Linked DNA regions of Homo sapiens: region 1 is linked to region 2. The links are contacts of gene promoters, found by promoter capture Hi-C in human tissues and cell types (Jung and others, 2019). All regions are on one chromosome and are shown on one strand. Each heading gives the region's core, a stretch centred on a gene start or on the middle of the fragment in contact. The rest is flanking DNA. Distances are from core to core; before and after follow the strand shown.

What was found. The method cuts DNA at HindIII sites, captures the fragments that hold promoters and counts their contacts. A contact is called where the count stands out against the background at its distance.
Region 1: a contact is called between a fragment that was not itself captured here and the fragment with the promoter of SULT1C4 in region 2, in 1 of the 25 tissues and cell types used here (neural progenitor cells).

The regions. Positions count from the first base shown.
Region 1 is chr2:108,554,598-108,559,588 of GRCh38, reverse strand. All of the region lies in intron 1 of LIMS1 (LIM zinc finger domain containing 1), which reads right to left. Among named protein-coding and RNA genes, the nearest start is that of LIMS1, 23 kb to the right of the region's middle. The HindIII fragment of the contact is 4,582 bases long and covers 990-4,991 here.
Region 2 is chr2:108,373,680-108,379,203 of GRCh38, reverse strand. SULT1C4 (sulfotransferase family 1C member 4) reads right to left here and starts at 1,250. Exons shown (of 7, transcript NM_006588.4): 1 at 698-1,250. The coding sequence starts at 866. The HindIII fragment of the contact is 17,622 bases long and covers 1-5,524 here.

The DNA.
Region 1 (4,991 bases), core at 2,031-4,530, 180 kb before region 2:
AGAGATTAGATTTTTATCATGCTTCTTCATAATTATAGTTTCTAATATAAACCTAGCACTGTGCTGCAAACTAAAAGTAATAGTTTTTAAAAATTAAGAGAGTTGATTATAAGACCGCAATGAGAAAGTCTTATTTTCTTACTCCTTATGGAACATAAGTAATTATGTATCACAGGCAATTAAAATCAACTCATATTTACAGACTAATAAACTTTTAAAATTACATGTAATGCAAATCACTCTAGAACAACACATTTTTACAAGTTATTTTGAAGTGTTTTAATGTCGCTGAGGACATTTAACAATTCTCAGGAACCAATTCTCACATTTTCCAGGCTAGCATTTCTCACATCCATGGATGTCAAGGGATATTGTGATTATGTATCTTCATAGCCTTCTACAGAGAACTTTATGTGCAAACTCTGAATTAAAGCCAGTGTCTAAGGGTATATAAATTATCCCATACAGAATAATTTCGTGGAAGTGATATTAGTGTGAGGCTTAGCTAAGCAAGGCTTAGCTCCTTGCTCAGCCTGCCCTAACGGTGGGAATCAGAAGCTGCCCCCGGCGCCTTGGCAGTTTCTGAAGAGTTATTTTTGTACATTTAAATATGTTCTTGGCCGGGCACAGTGGCTCACACCTGTAATCCCAGCACTTTGGGAGACCAAGGCGGGTGGATCACCTGAGGTCAGGAGTTTGGGACCAGCCTGGCCAACATGGTGAAACCCCGTCTCTACCAAAAACAAAAAAATTAGCCAGGTGTGGTGGCATACAACTGTAGGCCCAGCTACTCGAGAGGCTGAGGCAAGAGAATTGCTTGAACCCAGGAGGCGGAGGTTGCAGTGAGCCGAGATCGCACCACTGCATTCCAGCCTGGGTGACAGAGTAAGACTCCATCTCAAAAAAAAAAAAATTAAAAATAAATAAATAAATATATTCTTAAAAGTTTTCTCACAGTTGATGTAAAAGGATATTTGTCTCCAATGCACTCTATAGACTGTCAATTTATTCACATCTAACAAAAGACGAGAAATGCCAGTGCAACAAAGGCATTTAGAGTACTATAAAAACGCACAAATCGTCCCGGTGTGGTGGCTCACACCTGTAATCCCAGCACTTTGGGAGGCTGAGGCAGGCGGATCACGAGGTCAGGAGATCGAGACCATCCTGGCTAACACAGTGAAACCCCATCTCTACTAAAAAATTAGCCAGGCATGGTGGCAGGCACCTGTAGTCCCAGCTACTTGGGAGTTTGAGGCAGGAGAATGGCGTGAACCCACGAGGTGGAGCTTGCAGTGAGCCAAGATTGTGCCACTGCACTCCAGCCTGGGCGACAGAACAAGACTCCGTCTCAAAAAAAAAAAAAGAAAAAAATGCACAAATCTTCAGGTGGGCTGATATAACCGATACTACAAGTTCAAGGAAAGAAGGGGCAATCCATTTTAAATCTATAATTACCTTCTAGTATGTTTCAAAGATACTGTAACAGGAATTCTCATAATGGCTTTCTTCATAGTCCTATACTTAAAATTTTTAGGTATTAAATAGTCTGTTTGCTAGAAAGTATTAATAGAACTGTGAGATCTTGTATTTTATATCCATAATTTCCCCTTCATACATTCAGCCTTTTGTTTTTCACAGATCATAGAGATAACATTGTACTTATTAGTAGAAATAAACCAATTTGTTCTCACACACAAAGTTGGGTACCTTCAAATCAACAACTTCAAGAATCATGTTCACTTAAATCTTTGAAACTTTACAGAAAATTCCAACTGGGCATGGTGGCCTATGCCTGTAATTCTAGCGCTTTGGGAGGCTGAGGCAGGTGGATCACCTGAGGTCAGGAGTTTGAGACCAGCCTGGGCAACATGGTGAAACCCCATCTCTATCAAAATACAAAAATTAGCTGGGCGTGGTGGCACGTACCTGTAGTCCCAGCTACTAGGGAGGCTGAGGCAGGAGAACTGCTTGAACATGGGAGGTAGAGGTTGCAGTGAGCCCAGATTGTGCCACTGCACTCTAGCCAGGGCAACAGAGCAAGACTAGGTCTCTCAAAAAAAAAAAAGTTCCTACTATTTTTTGATTAATGAGGGTAAAATATGAATCTGATCATATGTTCGATATCTTATAAAATGGTCAGTTCAGAAGTTCCATGTTAAAATTACCAAGTCCTCTCAACCAATGAAAATCTATAGTCTTAAGAAAAAAAGGCTGGGCGTGTTGGCTCACACTTGTAATCTCAACATTTTGGGAGGCTGAGGCAGGAGCAACACTTGAGCCCAGGAGTTCAAGACCAGTCTGGGCAACATAGAGAGACACCGTCTCTACAAAAAATGAAAAATTAGCCAGGCACGGTAGTGTGCGCCTGTGGTCCCAGCTACTCAGGAGGCTGAGGTGGGAGGATCGCTTAAGCTCAGGAGGTTGAGGCTGCAGTGAGCTGTGATGGCTCTACTGCACTCTAGCCTGGGAGACACAGTGAGACCCTATATGTCAAGGGTAGGGGAGAAGGAAGGAAGGAACAAAGGTAGGTAGGTAGTGACAGTTACTACAGGACTGAACGAAGGCGGATGAACGCAGAAATGAAAACAAAAAAGAAACTGTTTTAAAGAAGGGGTCAGGGGGATCCCTGCTTCTAGTGAGCAAAGGCAGCCCTGAGCTTCTACAGCCTTTGTATTTATTGGGTAGAAAGAGCAGGGAGGAGTAGGTAACGATTGGTCAGCTGCTTGACTGATCACAGGTTCACATTATTGCTAACAGGCTTCAGATTTGCCTAATCACAAGCAACACTGTGCCTGGGGCATGACTGCCCTCAGCATTCCTTCTGGGCAGCAGACGCAGTTGTCAGCTTGCTAACATTCTGCATTCATGAGAACAGTTTGCTGTTTACTCATATAGCCTCCAGTGGTATACTGAGTTGATCACTGACCCTCATTCTTTCAGCCTCCAACAAAGGAAGGGAGGGAAGGAAAGGAGAGAAAGAGAAAAAGCATAAGTCCATCTTCCAATCTATGTCTGAAAATATAAATAACATAAGAGTTAACTTTTCAACAGTTTGACAGGTCCTAAAAGGTAAACACAGAATTACCATATGATCCAGCAACTCCACTCCTAGGTATATGCCCAAAAGAATTAAAAGCAGGGACTCAAACAGATATTTGTACACCAGTGCTCACAGTACTCAAGTGTTCATAAGTGACATTACTCACAATAGCCAAAAGGTGAAAATCACCCGTGTCCATCAACAGATAAATGGATAAACAAGTACAGTATATACATACAATGGAATATTATTCAGCCATAAAAAGGAACAAAATTCTGATATAGCTACAACATGGATGAACCTTGGGGACATTATGCCAAGTAAAATTAGCAAGACACAAAAGGATAAAAATATATGATTCTACTTATATGACGTACCTAGAGTAGGCAAATTCATAGAGACAAAAAGTAGAACAGAAGTTACTAGGGGCTGGGGGCAAGGCAGAATGGGAGTTATTGTTTAATCGCATTGTGAATGTGAAGTTACTGTCACTGAATTATACACTTAAAAATGATTATGATGGTAAATTTTGTGTTATTTATATTTTGCTATAGCAAAAAAGGAAAAAAAAAACCAGGATAATTAAACCGGGCAAAAAAGAGTCAAGTTTTCAAAGCATTTCCAATCTACCTCCACTATTTCATTAGGATTCTATTTTACAGATAAGGAAACTGAGGTTCAAACACCAAATGAGGAGCAAAGCATGGACCAGCACTCCAGCCAGTGGGCTCCACAGCCAGCCAACTGCAGCCTGGCTCACCCCACAGTCCAGCACACAGCACTTCTGAGTGCAAGCCTGCCTTCCCTCAGGACAGCCTCCCAATTCTACTCTCTGCCCTTATAGCTTTCCTCTCCCTCCACCAACTTTCATGTGAACAGTGGAATAATCACCACAGGGTAAAAGCACAATTCACAAGACTAGGAGAAAAGCCTAGGAGCACCTGAGAATGTAGGCCTTTCACAAGAGGACCACGCACACAGCACTTTGTGCTCAGAGTGCTCATTACCAAAGCAGACTAGGATGCTTCCAGCTGCAGGAAATCAGAAAACCCAAAGTCAAACTGGCATAAACCATGGGAAAATTTATTATCACACAGAACTATGAGATGAGAGGCAGAGGGAGATCCAGGCCTGGATCCTGTGACCAGCAGGTGAGTGCCAGAACCAAAAATGCAGGTTCCTTCTGTCTTTCTGCTCTGACAACTTCAGTGTCAGACTCACCTCAAGACTGATCCCCTCAAGGTCACAGAATGGCTGCCAGTGGAAATACGGTCACAGCTATGCTTCATTATTTGCTCTCTCATTCTGGATGTGAAGGAAAATGCTTCCCCCTCCCCCCTCAAAAAATAAAGTCTTTCCTTATGACTGAGGCAACCCAGATCATGTGGATACCTCTAGACCATAAACAGTCACCACGGGAAAACCATGCTCTCACCTACTTAAAGAATGGATTCTCATGGCTAAGGGTGAAGGGGAAGTAACCGAAGAAAATGTGCATCTCGTTATTAGGAAAGACAAAGGAAATGGATGCTGATAGGCAGCCAGCACTGTCCACTATTCCTGTGTTTCTCAAACTTTAATGCACATGAACTCCCAGAGGATCTCACTACAACACAGATCCGGATTTGGTAGGTCTGAGATAGATAGGGCCCAAGATTCTACATCTTCAATAAGCTTCCAGATAATGATTATGCTCCTGGTCCCTCTCTGCACACAGGAGCTATTCAACAATGGTTTGTGTGTCCCTTACCTAAAGAGCACACCTCCCCTAGTGACCAGGGTGTCTGGCCGCCTCCTGAGAGCGTCATGTCATGTACTTTTGTCAGGCTGGTTGCCAGCTGCGCTCTGAACATTAGAGGCCAGCACACTCCTCTCAGCTGTAATGGCACGGATATTGAATAGTGCAGGTGACAAATTACCCTGAGGCATCCAGAAACTAAGAAGCTTT
Region 2 (5,524 bases), core at 1-2,500:
GCAAAGAGCAAATGTATATACAATTTGTGTGTGGACCCAGTAATGTATTTCTAGTAGATATGTAGATATGCAAAAATATTTATAGAGAACTATTTCCACCTCATCATCACCCAATTTTTATGACGTGGTGGCTCGGCTTAAGCTAGTCCTACTTTTACAGACAACTTTGTTAAACTGATTGTTGAGATAAGGCAGTTGGTTCAAAACTTACCACAAAGGAAGGTGGAAATCAGAAGGATGGTTCTCAGACCCTGAGATGGGAGGGCTGCTGAGGTGATATCAGCATTGCAGAACCAAAGCTCCCCTATTTCTTTCCCAAATCAGACTCAGGATCACCTTTCTAGCTCACACACTCAAAGCAGCTTTTTACAAGATCTACAATAAGGGCCTAGATTGGGAATGAATAAATAAACAAGTCTACCCTTTTGCTCTTAACTGTTTTCACTCTCTCCTGGGAAAGTGAAAAAAAAAAAAAAAGGAAGTACATCATAGTATCATAGGAAGATTGAATTCTAAAAATTTGTATGTCATTTTAGTATGTTTCGGTATAGCTTCAGTTTCCACTAGTAACTTTCCTTAGCCATATCACTCTGTCCAGAGTTTTCCAGATCAACTTCTTTATTTCATGACTAATGCATACTTCCACTTACCTTCCTAACTCTCCTCTTCCCCTTCCCCTGCAAGCCCTTCCACCTACCTGCTTTAGGATAGGTAGAAATAAGCAGGTCATCAGGCTTGGCTTGGAAGTTCCAGATCTTATCCCAGATGTCACAGGTGTCTGTCGGTTGAAGAATTCCCTTCACGTAGTTGACACTTAAGCGCTTTGTTCCATCAAATGTAAAATCCTCCATGTCGTGTAAGGCCATTAGTGTAAGAAATCAGAGGGCTCTTCCAGACACAAAGTTATCTTCAGTCAGCATATGGCTGCGTTGTGGATAGAGGCAGCACTCTATCCACCACACTACCACACTATCCAGCCCTCTAGCACAGGCCTGTCTGGGCCAGCAAACAGGGAGAAAGTGAGTTGCAGGCCTCCCGACTCAGGTTCCAGGGAACTGGAACTCTTGTTTATGACTTTGTCCACTGGCAGTTTCCTGAGGAACTGCAGCCCCCTCCTCACCAGGCTGTGGCGTCACAGCAGAGGCGGCCACAAACCCTGCTGGCCAGCAAACAGGGAGAAAGTGAGCTGCAGGTCTCCCGACTCAGGTTCCAGGGAACTGGAGCTCTTGTTTATGAATTTGTCCACTGGCAGTTTCCTGAGGAACTGCAGCCCCCTCCTCACCAGGCTGTGACGTCACAGCAGAGGCGGTCACAAACCCTGCTGGCTGGGTCCCGTTCCAGCCCTTCCGTTCTCTGTGAGTTAACAGGACATAGTATCACATTGTTTATAGCTCTCATGTCTGTGTCCATTAAACCCTTCATAGATAATTTCAGTAATTATTCCTTCTGGGAATTTTAAACAATTAAAAAGTTGCAGGACTTGCCTGTGAAATTACAGATTCTACACAGAATGACTTCCCTGAGAGACTGCAGGGACTTTCCCGTGGGCTATTAACAGTGGGGGCCTGGATGGATCTGAATCTCCCAGTACAAACATCTGCCAGGGTCAGCTTTGTTATTTTTTAAGAGTAAAATAAATAATGCTAAACTGGAGAATTGTAGGGGTTTCATCACAGCTATGAAAACATGTATGCCTCATTTAAAGCAAAAGGGATGCAGAAAACTCCAGAGTTAACAGAAGACAGTGGCTGCCTTAGGAATCCATTCTGCCCCTGATAATCAGAAATTTCACAACTTGCTTCAGTCCCTGCCCCCGGCCTGGCCTGCACCCCAGGGCCATGCCACACTTGCTCCCCATGGCAGCACTCCTTCTGGAGATCTTGTCGGCTCTTGTGTGTCTGGCTGTCTGATTCTCTTTCTTCGTGTCCCAGCTTTGATGCCCCCTTTCTGGAGAAGCCTTCTTTGACTTTCTATGTCATCTCAAGTAGGTCCCTCCTATTTCCTTGCTCATGGCACTTTGTGTTCCTTTAGAGCAACCATTGACAGTTAGTTTTTGCGTGTTTACTTGTTGGCATTTTCTGTCTCCTTCACTACACTCTAAGGCACATGAAATGGGGCCTGTTGTTTTCTCACTGTTTGATAGCTGTATGCCTAGTGTCTGGCATTCTTCTATTTCTCGAAAGAATGAATGAGTAAAACTAAGCAAAAATTGAGGAAGCGAGTTCCTTGGGCCATCATTATGTGGGGACTAGGTGAGTATGGTGGCTGTGGCTTGACATCCTTCAGAGAGAAGTCAGGCTGCCTGTATTTGAACCCTGTGCCAAGTCCCAGTAGCTGTGGGCAATGGCAGGTTACAGAATCTTTCTCTGTTTCATATCACGCTTTTCCTCAGGTCTGAATTGGGGATCTTAACATTATCTACCTCATGGTTGTGGGGAGATAAAACAGCTTATTTAATGCTTGGCAACAGGGAAATGTTGAATAAATCATAGCTGTTAATAATAATGGGTGACTTTGTTCACCATTTCTCTGTGGCCCATGTTCTGGATGCAAACTCAGAAAAGATCAATTCTTTGGCTTTCCCTATTCCTCATCCCCTCCCTCCAGACCATGGTGAGGTGGATGGGCCCTTGAGACAGAGACTGCCAGGTGGAATGCCTGGGATGCATATGCATTTAAACAGACTTATAAAAATCACCTATAATTTTTCAGTTAGATTTTATTCTATAATCTTTTTGGCCCTGTGTGCCATCAGAGTAGAGTGGTAGATATTCAGCAATGCCTTAGCAGTTTTCTCCAGTGCGTTGTGTGCTAGAGGGGGAGGGCTGGGAGATGGGGGAGGATATGCTTCTGGACCCAAAGATGACTGACTGGGATTGAAAATAGATCCAGGGAAGATGGGAAGTTCCAAATAATTTGAAAAGTGATCTTGACTACAAACACTGCTCTTATTCTCACTTAATGTTTTTACTCAATAGTACTTTCTCATGAGGTTAGGAGAATTAAATAAATATATTTAGTGATTATAAGAATAAAGTTGGTGCTAAGTCTATATTTGACAAGCATTGCTTTGGAATTCTAAATATATGGGTTTGAATTTAAACTGCCCCCTAATAGCTGTGTAACTTTTCTAATACTTATCTCTTCTGAGCCTTTCGTTTTTTATTAATCTCACAGGGTTAATGTAATGTTGGATGTAAATAAGGTATCCTATAATCTTGGGATATATTGGGTACCCAAGATAAAGCTAATATACTCTCCCCCTCTAATTCTTCCCTGAACCTCCCTTTCAACTCTGTCACTGTTTGCTTCTGAGCATGGAGAGGAGATTCCAACTCTTAACGCGCTTTAGATGTCCTTTTTGCAAACTACTAACTTGTTCAGGCCTCAAATGTGATTCATTTGCAAAATTTGTAACTGGGGTTTCCAAACTCTTTTTTTGTTAGTAAAATCCAGCATGCTGGTTACTACCCTTAAACAGGTCTCTGTTTGTTTGCTTTTTACGAAAGGAATATGTAGGCAGGGCATGGTGGCTCATGCCTGTAATCCCAGCACTTTGGGAGGCCGAGGCAGGTGGATCACGAGGTCAGGAGATTGAGACCATCCTGGCTAACACGGTGAAACCCCGTCTCTACTAAAAATACAAAAAATTAGCCGGATATGGTGGCAGGTGCCTGTAGTCCCAGCTAGTCGGGAGGCTGAGGCAGGAGAATGGCATGAACCCAGGAGGCGGAACTTGCAGTGAGCCAAGATCGCACCACTGCATTCCAGCCTGGGCAACAGAGTGAGACTCCATCTCAAAAAAAAAAATAAATAAATAAAATTAAAAAAAAGGAATATGTCTAAAAGACGTTTTGACTCGGCACACTGTTTTAAAACACACCCGGCCAGGCGCGATGGCTCATGCCTGTAATCCTAGCATTTGGGAGGCCAGGGTGGGCAGATCACCTGAGGTCAGGAGTTTGAGACTAGCCAGGCCAACATGGCGAAACCCTGACTCTACTAAAAATAGAAAAATTAGCCAGGCGTGATGGTGCATGCCTGGAATCCCAACTACTCAGGAGGTTGAGGCAGGAGAATCACTTGAACCCTGGAGGTGGAGTTTGCAGTGAGCTGAGACTGCACCACTGCACTCCAGCCTGGGTGACAGAGCGAGACTCGGTCTCAAAAAAAAAAAAGATACCCATTGGAGAGTGAGCTAAGCCTGTGTTGAAAAAGTTGAATTGTAATGGTCTTTGTTCTTTGAATCAATATTTAGCTTAGAGGTATTGTAAATGACTTATTTGTTGTTCAATACTTGAAACCGAAGCAAGAGGAAGAACTAACAAGTCCACATAATTAAAACTGGAATCAAATCCAGATTGTTCAGATATTGATAAATATGGTTTATTCATAACTTCTTTTCCCCCTTCCTCTATTTAGATGGCCTTAAGGCCATTCTGTTTGCAGTACACTATTCCAGGAGCTGAGTAGGGAGAAAATGAAACTCAAATGAATTATATTACTCTTTGCTATAATACTTTAATCAGCTTCAGAGGTTGGAGGTAACTGTAAGCACTTAGTGAGATGAAGCAAGGATGTAGGCAATCTATAATTTCAGACAATTCCTTAAAACATAACCTAAGAACCCCTTACATTCTCAGAAAAATGAAAAGCTGTGTCAAATGCTGGGTCATGTAGAGCTTCCAGCTGTAGCAAATATAGATACAGGATGCCCAGTTAAATTTGAATTTTAGATAAACAGTGAATTAATTTTTAGTACATGCATTTTCTGTGCAATATTTGGAATATACTTATTCTTCAAAATAAATCACTGGTTGTTTATTTGAAATACAAATGTGAGTGGGCATCCTGTATTGCATCTGTCAACCATAAGTAGGGGAGCAGTTCTGGCCAAGTCTAACTCCAAAACAGAAAAACTCCAGGAGCTCAATCAGTGGGATTAGAAACATGCCTGAAGCAGAAAGCCTTTCAGAATTGCACATGAGCTGGGTGACCACTTGCCTCTTTTCCCTGGCTCATGGGGAAAACTTCATACTTTCCAGTTGTTAGCATCTCTGCCAGCCTCTCCTCTGGGCCTGGAGATTCACCCAGCTTGTTTTGTGGAGATGGCACCACCTTTATTGGGGGAACCCACACCTGATAATTCAACATGAGTCCTTTTCTATTTTCCCTAAGTGTCGGCCGATCTGAGAAATAAAGGGAAAGAGTACAAAGAGAGAAATTTTTAAAGCTGGGTGTCCGGGGGAGACATCACATGTCGGCAGGCTCCTTGATGCCCCTGAGCCGCAAAACCAGCAAGTTTTTATTAGTGATTTTCAAAAGGGGAGGGAGTGTACAAATAGGGTGTGGGTCACAGAGATCACATGCTTCACAAGGTAATAAAATATTACAAGGCAAATGGAGGCAGGGCGAGATCATAGGACCGGGACGAAATTAAAATTGCTGATGAAGTTTCAGGCACGCATTGTCATTGATAACATCTTATCAGGAGACAGGGTTTGAGAGCAGACAACCAGCAGGA